Linked DNA regions of Homo sapiens: region 1 is linked to region 2. The links are contacts of gene promoters, found by promoter capture Hi-C in human tissues and cell types (Jung and others, 2019). All regions are on one chromosome and are shown on one strand. Each heading gives the region's core, a stretch centred on a gene start or on the middle of the fragment in contact. The rest is flanking DNA. Distances are from core to core; before and after follow the strand shown.

Region 1 (5,786 bases), core at 1,617-4,116, 680 kb after region 2:
TTGACTGGCATATTAATGGCTTTTTTGTAATCCTACAAAATTGCATTCTCATCTTATGTGGCCTGAATGGTCTTAAAATTGTTTTATAAACACTGCAGGGGTTGCCTTTGGTCCACAGTTAAAGGACACTCAACAGCAGTGGAGCATTGTATGGATGCAGCAGAAGAATGTAAAAAGACTGAAGTTATTGCAATTGTATTTCAAAAAATAGAGAAATGTTACAGAAGAGGCCTTTATGTAAAATTAATCCTGCATATACTTTTAGTATACTCAGTGCACATTTCCTATACTTGATGTACAGTATATGAAAAGCAGACTAATAGGATCCTAGTACACTACCTTCTTGGGGAACAAGTTGAGTAATGAAAAAAAGTGGAGGAAAATGTACAGGAAGGGAGGGGGAAAGAGAGAAAATCATAGAGGAGAGAGGAGAGGGAGAAGGTGGGAGGAAAAAACTAGAATTGTTACTAATAATCCTGATCTTTTTTTTAAACGTTACATCCATGTTAGTCCCACAATATTACAGTTGCTCCTTGCAAAGGGAGTCCTAAAAAAGAAACAGTGAAGAGATTTGTTTGATGCTCATATGGAGGTGCCTCGGTCTGGATCATTACCCAGATTGAGCCCCAGGGTAGGAGTTGGTTGATAAGGAATAGATGACATTGTTTTTATAGGACTCCTGAAAAAGCCCCCATTAGGTGCCCTGTGCCTAAAAGGGCCAGTTCGGTGCTCAGGCACGTTGCCAAAAGTGAAACCAGAAGCAGCTTTAGCTGACAGTGTGCGGCTAAGAGTCTGGATCTGCTCTGGGATAAAGGTTGTTGTGGTAATATGAGTGTTCCTGAAATCACTGATTTGCTCCAGTGCTTGTCGTGTTGGCAAAGTGTCAATGTCCAGAGGGGTCAAATCAATTGACGAGGTGGAAAACTGTTTATGGGGGCTGTCGTCATCTGTGCACAAGCTATTTACACGTCTATGGAGGTGCTCCAGGTCAATTTCCTTGTCATCCTGGAGATGAAGAAAAAGAAAATAAGGTTCTCATCAGTACTAGCTTTGATGGTTAAAAAAAAAAAAGTAGTTCAGCAAACATGTAATTAACTGAACTTTGGGGTTTATTCATTTAACAAATATTTATTGAGCACCTAGTATGAGCCAGGCACTGTGCTAAGTTCTGGGGGATTCCAATTCTGAGATAAGATTATCTACAATAAATATTTTTCTTGCAGTAAAGGTTTTAAAGTGATCATATGCCACATGCAACTACAAAGATATGTAAGCAGTTGATGGGTGATTGCCATTCTATAAAAGACAGACCCAGGCAAAATTGTAACAATAGAAAGTATGGTTTTGGCAACTCTACCCCCCACCTCTTCTTTATACATGCTTCCTCCCTTTTCAGGGCGTCTCATTCCAAGTTAAATTTTTGTTCCTTTCAACCACTTACTCCTAAACTTAAGTTTCCATTCTTGAAAAAAATGATATAGTAAGCTATTTCATACTGAAGTGTTAGTGACTGTTAAAGTGTTATTCCTTGTAAGCCAAGGATATGTGCGATTGTTTAGAGAGAGCAATACTCAACACAAAATAATTTCTAATTGAGGGATTTATGCACTCAAGGTATCTAGCACCTGAATCAGTCAATACTGTGAGGTCAGTGAGATATTTAGGGACCCCTTCAAGTCAGGGCACGTGAGTGATAGCTTTAGTTTAGGGCCAGCTTTATGCTAACTGACCTCAAAACCAAAGACGTTTTAAGCTATGCTAATGGCGTCTTGGTAAGAAGGCAGTTAATAAACAAAAATATAAGTAAAATCTCAGATTTTTGGAATTGAAACCCATTGATAAGTTCCTTATATTTTTCACTAAAAGTGAGTATTAACGCCCAATATTTGAGAAATAAAACTGGAAGGAAATAAAATTATCCTTGTTATTAGTCTTATTTACAGCCAAACTCAATAAATTAAATTTATGAGAATTTAAGATATCTATTAATCATAAGAGGAGAAAATATTTTTTCATAGGATCTGGATTAGCTGTCACAAGTTAGAATGGAGCATGTATTTTTTTCATTGTGCTATTATAGTGTTCCTCAGTGAAAAATATTTTGATGTGCATCACTGTTTTTCCTTCTCCCTTCTTATTTCAAAATTCAATAAAAAATATCCATTAATGCAATATTATCACTGAGACTTTAGAGGATTGAGACATATAATTTTATGGTTCCCACAGCAACTGTAATGTAGTCATCCATCAACAGATATAATAATGCAAAATTTTAATATCATATAGAGTAATTCAAAATATAAGGAGCTTGGGGAGTCCTTACTTTCCAGATTTTTAAAAATATGAGTCTCAGCTATAATGTTGCATTAATGTGGTCTTTTGCATTGAATCAATGTCAACGGAGATACCAGAAGCTTATTCCACAAAGAAAACACTACAATGTGACTTGATTAATTTATAATTCATTCTTCACATATTTAGAATGTATGCTCATTCACACAGGTAGGAAGCTAAAATTCATCTTTGCTAAAGCCAAGCTTTTCCTTATAAATGCTGCTGATCAATTTTGCATATAAGGTGATAAGAAGGAATCCTTACACTACTTTTGAAATCACCCTGTTTGAAAAAAACACATTAATGTGCAACAATTCATATGCAAATGAGAAGCCGTATTTATTGTGCATTAAAGTAGATCCTTTCAGGAGTTGCCTCAGGCATCAGTTAGTCAGCCAAGTTCTAGTTATAGAAACTTTAAAAGTTTCTTTGAAGCTATCCATCACATAAAATTGTTTAGCAAATTCAGATTGGTTTTTGTTTCAATTTGTGAAGCTTTAGTGAATATGACTTCATCAGTTAAAACATTTTCACCCCTTTAGTCCAATGGAAATAAGATAAATTAATCAAGATTTAGCTTCAGATTTTCTTTAATTTATAAGTCTCATACTTCTTGATGAAAACAATGCTCAGGCCACTATAAAAGAGATATGTGTAATTCTGTAATTATTCTTTCAGATATTGAGATAAAATTTAATATGGCCCTGAAGTGAAGCTGACTCCACAGTAAAGGAGAAACATTGAAATTTGGATGTTTTCATGATGTGGATTTTGGATTTGATAAGCTTGGGGCCATCGAAGAGCTTCTATAGGTCTACATGAGTAGAGAAGGAGGCAGTCACTAGTGGTGAAGAGAAAATTCTGATCATTTTTATTACAGTATTGTATTTTTGGGGGGCTAGTCTTAGAGATACGAGGAATTTACTTACAAGTTAAACAACTAAGTGAAACAAAATGGTAAGTATCTCTGTGAACTGGTCAAAGGAATCATGGCCTTTAAAAATCACTGAATTAAAATCTATTCTGAGATTTGAGAGAATTTCAAAGCCCATTATGGTATATGAATTTCTAAGTCTTTCAAACACTATAGTCTCCTCTTCACTGATCTGGGGATATCCTAAAATGGAAATTGATATTGATCTTACCAATTTTTATATTTCACAACTTTATTTTTAATCTTCAAGAAACGAAAAAACAAGGACCACCCCCAACCCATTATCCTCCCTGGGATGGTCCTCCCTGGAAATACAGCCTGCTTGTTGATTCAATTTAGAGCCAAATCTCTCAATCAAGTACCTCTTTTGATGGAACCCGGGAGCCTTTCCTCTTGTTCCACCACGTCTCCAGCATGGCTATGAAGCAGGAGAGGACAATTCCAGCAGCCAGGATACAAAAGACCCCTGCAAAGCTCTTTATGTCCAGGGCGCCTCCTTTCTGCTTTGTGTCCACTGACGAGTACAGGTCACACTGGCCATTCTTAGGCCACCATTTGTGCTTCAGGATGTCCATGTCACCATTCTGCTGAAGCTCCAGGATCCTTGGGATAAAGAACATAAGCATGTGTTATTACAGACATAGTTATCGCCCTGGTTCACAACACATCCATTTATAATCCCACCTCTGTAGGATGGTGGCTGTCAAAGGGAAATGAATATATAGATCTGCTTGTTTTAGATGGAATGCTAGGAAACAGAAAGTCATCATTGCTTTGATTCTACAGACAGCATTGCACCACACTGCTTTCCTCTCTCTCTTCACCCATCCCACCCTCCCATCTTCCTCTCTCCTTTTCTTCCTATTCTTCTTCTTCTGGTTTCATTCTATAATTCTAAATATTTTCCTCCTGGTTTGCTTCAGTGTGTTTTTACAATCACAATTCAGAGGCACTGTTTTTATATGCTTTCAAGTTGTTGTAGTTCTGTGTCCCTTTCCTACATCCAGAATGATACTCAGGATCTTAATGCTTTTATGAAGAACGTTTTGCTGCTTAGAGCAAGATGCTGGCGTAATGTCACCCAGCATATGCTACACACAAAGAAATTCAATTAAGAAGACCTATTATTTAACACAGTGTGAGAGGAAGCCTTGGGATAAGTTTCAAGTTGATAAAATACATCTTTTTTGGTTTTTCGCACAACTGATCTAGTTTCCCTTTTAATGCCAAAGGGGAAGTAATCTTACCTTGGAAAACAAGAAGAAAACCTGACCAGAGGCTTTCAGAAGTAGTTAAATTCAAATAGGAAAAACCCTCTTCTTTTTCTTCTGCTGCTTCTTTTTCCCCTCCCCAGAGTCTGAGGGTAGCTGCACACTGCAGCTTTTTAAAGTGTGTTTTTCATAGAGGAATTATTCTCAATTCCCAGTGCTTCTTAGGCTCTACCTGAGGCCAGCCTAGATGTGGCCCTCCTCCAGCTATGCCCTTTTTCACAGGGCAAGGAAGATCAGACCAAGGCTGTGTGCCTGTACAGAGTGTGCATCGTCCTCTGGGTTCCCTGGAATTTCCTGGCCAAACAGCTTAGTGCTCTTCCAGGGCCTGCCAGGCCTATTCCCAGGGTTGTCCTCCTGGCAGAAGATCTTACAGCCACGGGTGCACCATAGCTCTATAGGGTGGAGTTTGTAGAGTGTGGACAGAGCTCAGATGAGTGAGCTCGGGTGTATACAGCCTTGCGTAGGAGACACTTCAGCGTGCAAGTTGGAGCTGCAGGTGGAAAGAAAGGGCCCCAGAGCCCTGTGCTCCTGGGTCAGTTCAGACCTCCTGGCTAGTCACATAGAAACTTAAACCTGGCCTCCCAGGGGTCATGAAGGTATATTTGTCCAGATAAGAACATAGAATATATTATATCAAACAGGTTTTAGTTTAATGCATAATTTTTACATAATTAGACTTGGGGTATGTGAACCTATATTTGTACTCTTGCCCAAGGTCTTGGATTATTTGGGGTGAGACTGCTTACAATTTAAGAGTTCAGAGAATGGAGTTGTAGTGACCTTTTTACCTGTTTCATGTCATCCACATGGCTAGAAGAACAAGCAACATGATAAAGGGAAGAAGATTTTGTGCATTGGAAGTTGGGTCAGTGTTTAATCTGAGTTAAACTAGAGTGAGACCAGCCCTTAAGGCTCTGGTAGAGGGTTGGTCTCAGGTCCCTGTCATCTCTCCCAGACGTTCCCACAGCCTCAGCTCTGGTGCCCCGTGCTGGCAGTCCAGGACTGAGACTGTTCTGAAACCTCCCCCACAACCTGGACCTTTTCTCCTTGCTTCCTGTGAAATGTATCTGTCTAGAGTGTTGCTCTAGAAGAGTAATTAATTTGATTAATTGAATTTACTAAAATGATTATGAATATTAATGGGTTATATGTCACCCTTATTCCAGCTTCCATTCCAGAAAAAGCCATTTGCATTTCCAGAATTTCCAAAAGTGCATTTCACAGCAAACCAGTACCTACAAGACCTC
Region 2 (6,677 bases), core at 4,159-6,658:
ATTTCATCTAACCATGAAAGGTGTTAAAACTTGCAGGCTGGATTACATATATATACTTCCTTATAAAATCTAATTAACTGAAATCAAGGCAGAAATTGATGATAAATTAAAGATAACTTTAAAAAAATCCACAGCCAAGAAACAAAGGAGACTCCGTTAGTAAAATGGGATTTGCAGTATTTTAATAAGGATATTTAGGCGTTACAAACTTATTTTTAATCTTTCAAAATGAAGTTGGATACACATACAAGATGCAGAGTATGTGTGTGTATATATATTTATACATACACATATATTATTAACCAAAATGACAATCTTCTAAATATCTGATTAAAGAAACAACTAACTAAATTTAAGGTAAAGTGAATTATTAAAGAGGCAGCACAGCATAACTGTTGGAAAGCCAGCTCTTCCATACAGTCATGTGAGCGCACAGCACAGTTATATACAATGGGAATAATATCACTATTTTGCATGTTGGTATGATAATTAAATGAGATGATGCATTCACAGCACTTGATAAATATCCAAGTTTGTTGGTAAGACTGGCACAAAAATAGTATTTTCATGCGTTGCACAAAAGTGTAAATTGGCACAACCTTTCAAAATGACGTAGATACATATATTCACATATATATGTATGTACTTATATTTGGTATTCACTGTACCACTGTAACAGTAATATGGAAATGCCACAAATACTCTTCAGTAGGGGATTGGTTAAATGTCACTTTCCTTATAAAATAAAATTATACAATTGTTTTAAAAAAACACACATACCTCCTTATATATTAATAGAGAATGATCTCAGGGTAAATTGTTGCAAAAAAAAGCAAAGTATAAAACAGTGTGGGCCAGGCACGGTGGCTCACGCCTGTAATCTTAGCACTTTGGGAGGCCGAGGTGGGCAGATCACCTGAGGTCGGGAGTTCAAGACCAGCCTGACCAACATAGGGAAACTTGGTCTCTACTAAAAATACAAAATTAGCCAGGCGTGGTGGCACATGCCTGTAATCCCAGCTACTCGGGAGGCTGAGGCAGGAGAATCGCTTGAACTCGGGAGATGGAGGTTGTGGTGAGCCGAGATTGCGCCACTGCACTCCAGCCTGGGCAACAAGAACAAAACTCTGTCTCAAAAAAAACTGTGTGTATAATATGCCACCATTTGAGTAAAAGAAGATGGAAATTCATATTTATTTGAATATGCAAAAACAAACCTTTTAGAAACTTATATAATAGTAATAATTACCTACTGGTGATGAAAGTGAAACAGTACCTGACATATAGTCAAGTCTCAATAAATAGAAGCTTTAATTACTCCTCTCATCAGTGCTATCATCATCATCATGAAAACATATCCTTAAAATATATACACAGAATACATTCAAACTAAATCCATAATGAGGTAAAAAGCCAAATCTCAATTATTCATAGGCTATCTAGTTGGAGCTCCAAGCCCTTCATTTCCTCTTCAAGGGTAAGTAGCTTTTGGCCATCTTACTGTTGGCTATCACCTCCACCAGAAAGTGAGCTGAGGAAATAATTCCGAAACAATCATTTTATTCAATTTTGATCAACAGTTTTTAACAAACAGCTTTTGGAACTGAAAGAGATTATTAAAATCCCATAGCACAACCTTTGAAAATTATATATGAAAGAACGAAGATTCAGAGAATTCCCCAAATTAGGGACAGTTCAAAAATGTACAGTCTGTTCCTAGTTAAATGCTTTTTCCATTTTATTATTGATAACATGGGGGAAAACGAAAAGAAGTTAAATTGAAGTCAGTTATCCTTGCTAAATCTACTCCCCTCATCCTTTATTATAGATAATCAAATTTGCCAAGATCAAATCCCAGGAGCAATGATAATAAGTAGAGTACAGGTCAACAGAGAATTAAACAACTCAGCCCGAGGACTAAGCACTGAATGAACATCTATAATAAAATTTGTAAAGTTTACTTACACTAGAGATTGTCAGAGGCATGTTGAAATCCTTACCGCCCTGCAGCCGGAAACCCCAAGGAGCTGGGCCAACCAGTGACACACTGTAGTTGCTCATGGTTCTAATGGCTCAAAGTCCAATGACAGAAAATGAAATATGCTGTGAAAGAAAATCAGATGATTAGCAAAAATGTTTACTTGAAACCCTAGAACATAAATTATGTTTAGTATTTTGTTTGAGGGGGGTGAGAGGATATAGAAGATAAGTCTTAATTAAGTTCTTCATTAATTTCAGTTTAAGAAAAGCAATCTGTGAGCTAATATAAATTTTCTACACTCATGGCAATTTCCATGGTCTAAAAATTCCATATCAGAATACATTTCTAGACACTTAGTATGTTTCACAACTTGCTTCAATCCAATTTTGTGGCTTCTTGCATGCAAAGTTTAACTCAAAGTACTTTACAATACTTCACTAATGTAGCAAGATTTTATTTCAGGTTGAATTCAGAATAATTTTCTCCTTCCCTCCACTTCATGTATTCTTTTGTCTGCAATTGACAAGAGTCTTTCAACTGCACTTACTTAAATTCTAAGTTACTCTAACATGTGAAAGAGACTGCAAATCAGTAGGCTCCCATTCATGCTTTCCAAATACTAAATTCTTTACAATGAGAAGCTGTTTTTCAATGCACAAAACTATTCTCTCCAATCATGAACTACAACTTGTATTTCCTCCTATGGGGACATGGTATTTTCCACACTTAAAGTGATATCTACTTTTCCTTCAGATAGTCAACGATAGGCAATACTCTAGTACAGTGATGTTAGTCACAACCTGCTTTTTGTTTTATACACACACCTCACCAGGCAGAGAGTAAGCATTTGCCACTCAGTGAATAAGATTATGACTAAATACAGCAAAAGTGCTGGGTTAATGCATTCAAATGGAATTGGCAGTTTAGAAAAGAACCAGTGCTTCGGTGCTTTCTTTTGTCTGTTCTGCTGTTAAGTGTGCGTGTGATGACTCTCCTAGTAGTACTTTCATATAATTTTTAAAAAGCAAAAAAAAAAAAAAAAACTTCGAGTTTCCTATTGGTTGTTATAACGGCAGGAGACAGAGGAATGAAGTTTTCTTTTGTTTTAATGGAATACTAAGAAACAATAATTCTCTCTCTTTAAAAAATATTAAAAACATAACAGATATGTAATTTTATATTAAAAACATACTTCCTTGGAAAATGTAAGCTATTCAACCAAATCACCACCTAATATTACCTGTCTTAAAATATGTTTTAACCCATTCAAAATTTCTAGCCCATCACCCCAAATTCATAGTTGCAGATATAGATATTTGAGCCATAGGTATATTTAAAGCAAACATTCCTTCTTCTCATAAAGGGAAAATGGGGCAAAACATTCAAATAAGCCTGGTTTTTAAAGAAAAATTATATCAGGGAAAATAAAAATTACAGAAAATTGTATCAGAAACCGAAACAGCTTTTCTACTGGCGTGGTAGTATACTGAACTACAAGGCAATAACACATTACTTCAGTAATGAAGTAATAGGCACAGAGCACTAAAAAAGATCCAAAGGCCAAGCCGGAAGTCAAACTGTATATATAGGTGAAAAACTACTAGTGGGAAGCTAATAACGAGCCACACATAATTCAATTGCTTTCCCGCTATAAAAGGAGGAGATTTTCAGAAAACTAATAGAAGGACTGTCCTGATATTGACACGATACAAATCAGAATCGTGTAAAGCCAACTGATATTTCACAGGCAGCCTGCCCTCCTTTATTAATCTTTAACTTGTGTCTGGGGAATAATATGAAAGTTGGGCTCAACTTCCTCTGGCCCCATTCTTCCCTACAAGAAAATGTATTTCATTTAGATTATCAACCCATGTACTTGCAACTTCCCTTTACTTGGGGATTCCCTTCCTAACTTCTCTCATTTGTTATTAAAATTCCTAGCACTGGCAAGGTCACAGCCACACTACAAAACCAGTGTCATTTCATTTCTAGTCACTGTCCGTTCATTTCTAGATGCTTCTTCTGCTAGCTTCATTTGGAATTCATCTGCCTTAAAACAGTCTCTGCCCCAAGCAATGGCAATATTTTTATTGGCCTTTCCAAGACTCCTCCATCTGGTTATTAGTGCCCAAGCCCTTCCTCAAATACCAAGCAGGCAGGAAATAGCAGCATACTCTTTCAAACACGTCGAAAAGGTTGGAATTTCTGTAGAGTTATGGATTTTCTTTTAGGGAAAGTCTAAACAATGTCTTTGCTCTAGTACTAGGGAAGGAAGCTTGGTATTTCCCACACTTGTATCTCAGCTTCATTAGTGGGTGAGAGGGGAGAAAGGAGAACTCAAGATGAACTACACAGAGTGACAAAAAAAAAGGCCTGAAATTAAAGAGAAATATCTTGAGATTCTCTTTCCCCGCAATGGAGAGAGAATGTAGGTAGAGCTGAAGAACTAAAGCCACAGGCACAGGATGAAAGCAGCCGACAGGACAGTTTTCCAGGAGGGATTCGCGCCTAGCCTTGTTGGCCAAATAAGGCTACCGAACGGGCCGTTTCCGTGGCAGGCGGGTTCAGACGTCCTCCCCGTCAGGAAGGCGGACTTGGGATAGGATCTGGCGATCACACCCTAAATCTGCCCTGCCCAGCGCCGCCACGAATTTTCCTTCCAAGCTCTGCCCTGTCCACACGCCCTTCCTTTTTCCACTTATTGTAAAACGCACCGAAGGCACAGTCTTACAAAAGCCCCAACAAGTACTCAAGTGTTAACAAATCTCGTGTTCATGACAAATGTGTTTCTTAAACGAGCTTTATTTCTGGACGCGCAGAAGTTTTCCCCAAACAGGTTACACAAAACTGTAAATATCTGGGGGAGAAATAAATGCTTCTCAGTAGCCTGGGAGCAAAGAAAAACTAACGCGCCTTTTCCTTTGAGTCCCGCTTCCTACCCTCCAAGAGACTGGCGCAGGACTGGGCACTCAGACACCACACCACGGTGGTGCCGGGCGACGCCGGCAGCCGGGTGGGTGGGAGCGGCAGTGCCCGTCCCTGCCGGCCCTCGCCACCTCCGGGCGCCCTCCCGCGTCCCCGTCTCCGCTACGCTGGTCCCGGTCGGCCCGGGCTGCGGGGACCCCAGGGCTCGCCCTCTGGCCTCATGCGGACTCCAGCGCTGCCCTTTTCCGGGCGCTCCTTTTCCCAAGCTGCTCTCCCACCTCCGCCGCTCCGCGCCCAGAAAGCACCTGAGGAGCCATCCCTGCCCGAGGAGCGCCCCCTCCTCGTCCCCAACCGGGCTTCCCTTCTCGCGTTCGGCGCACAGCGGCCGGTTCTTTCCCTTCTCCCACCGGAGATCCGAGAGGCGCATCGCCGGCCGGCCGCCACTCACCTCGGGTCCGGCGCGGCGCGGGGCTGCCTCCGCCTCAGACAAGGGCTGACAAGTGACTCGCGGTGAGGGCGCCGTCCCCACCGCCCGCGGGAACTTCCGCCTCCTGGCTCTCCCTCGCCCCACCCCCGACCCAGGACACGCCCCTCCGCTCCCGGCCACGCCTCTGGGCCAGTCCCAGCCGCGCCGCGCAGGGGCGGGGAAGGTGGCGGCGGCGCCGGGCGCTCGGGCTTGCTGGGGCTGGCTGAAGCAGCTGCGGAAAGACAACTGCGCTACCGAGTTTCGGTGGGAGTAGTCTTAGCGGATTTTGAGCGCTACCTGGCAAAGGTCTAACCCTCCGCTCGTCCGTTTTGTAGTGGGTGCATTTTTCTCTCCAGAAATTTAAATTGGCAAGCAGTTGCTCTGCCTAAAAATAGAAGGGTACTTTGGATAAATCTCTATCTATGCAAGTTCAGCGGTTACTGCCTGCGTTTTTTTTTTTGAAAGAGCTTTACATGCTCTGAAAAGTGCAGACCCAGAAGTTTACCTGTCAGGAAGGTGAAAACCAGTAACCCTAACAGAAGTTAACCCTGTCCATCACACCAGAAGACAGTGATACATAAAAGCGGCCAAAAGTGATTCAACCACTGTATCTTCAGTTTATTTTTCTAAATCCAAATCAATAGTCCACTTTCCAGCCTTCTATAGGGTTGCTTGATACGCCCGAGGAATTTATTCATAAGAAAACGTGAATAATGTTCACTGAACATACGGAAAGTAACTAGACTGTTACACTGTGAATTGGCTTATAAAACGTGAAAAGGACAATTCTTAACCAAGGAGCATATAAAGCAAGGATGAACTTCATGAGGTCCGTGAGCTCCCCGGCCCCCAGAAGTGCAAGCAAAATTCCAAAGGCGAAGATCCAAAGCTGCTCTTTCCCTAACGGTAGCCACTGGCCACATGTGGCTATCGAACAGTTGAAATGTGGCTACTGTAACTGAGACCATGAATTTTTTGTTTTACGTAATTTTAAATAATTTAACATTTAAAACTGAAGCAGGATAACATTTCTTTACTTTTTTTTTCTTTGAGACGGATTCTTGCTCTGTCTCCCAGGCTGGGATCAGTGGTGCAATCTCGGCTCACTGCAACCTCCACCTCCCGGGTTCAAGCGATTCCCCTGCCTCAGCCTCCTGAGTAGCTGGGATTACAGGCGTGCGCCACCACGCCCGGCTAATTTTTTGTATTTTTAGTAGAGATGGGGTTTCACCATGTTGGCCAGCCTGATCTCGAACTCCTGACCTCAGGTGACCAACCCGCCTCGGCCCCGCAAAGTGCTGGGAT

What was found. The method cuts DNA at HindIII sites, captures the fragments that hold promoters and counts their contacts. A contact is called where the count stands out against the background at its distance.
Region 1: a fragment that was not itself captured here is called in contact with the fragment with the promoter of PDLIM5 in region 2 in 1 of the 25 tissues and cell types used here (lymphoblastoid cells).

What each region holds. Positions count from the first base shown.
Region 1 is chr4:93,767,295-93,773,080 of GRCh38, reverse strand. It overlaps GRID2 (glutamate ionotropic receptor delta type subunit 2), which reads right to left. Exons shown (of 16, transcript NM_001510.4): 15 at 3,631-3,871; 16 at 1-1,005. The coding sequence ends at 583. Among named protein-coding and RNA genes, the nearest start is that of ATOH1, 59 kb to the left of the region's middle. The HindIII fragment of the contact is 3,540 bases long and covers 1,097-4,636 here.
Region 2 is chr4:94,450,673-94,457,349 of GRCh38, reverse strand. PDLIM5 (PDZ and LIM domain 5) reads right to left here and starts at 5,408. Exons shown (of 13, transcript NM_006457.5): 1 at 5,355-5,408; 2 at 1,966-2,103. The coding sequence starts at 2,061. RefSeq lists silencers at 4,909-5,168, 5,339-5,758. The HindIII fragment of the contact is 5,884 bases long and covers 2,783-6,677 here.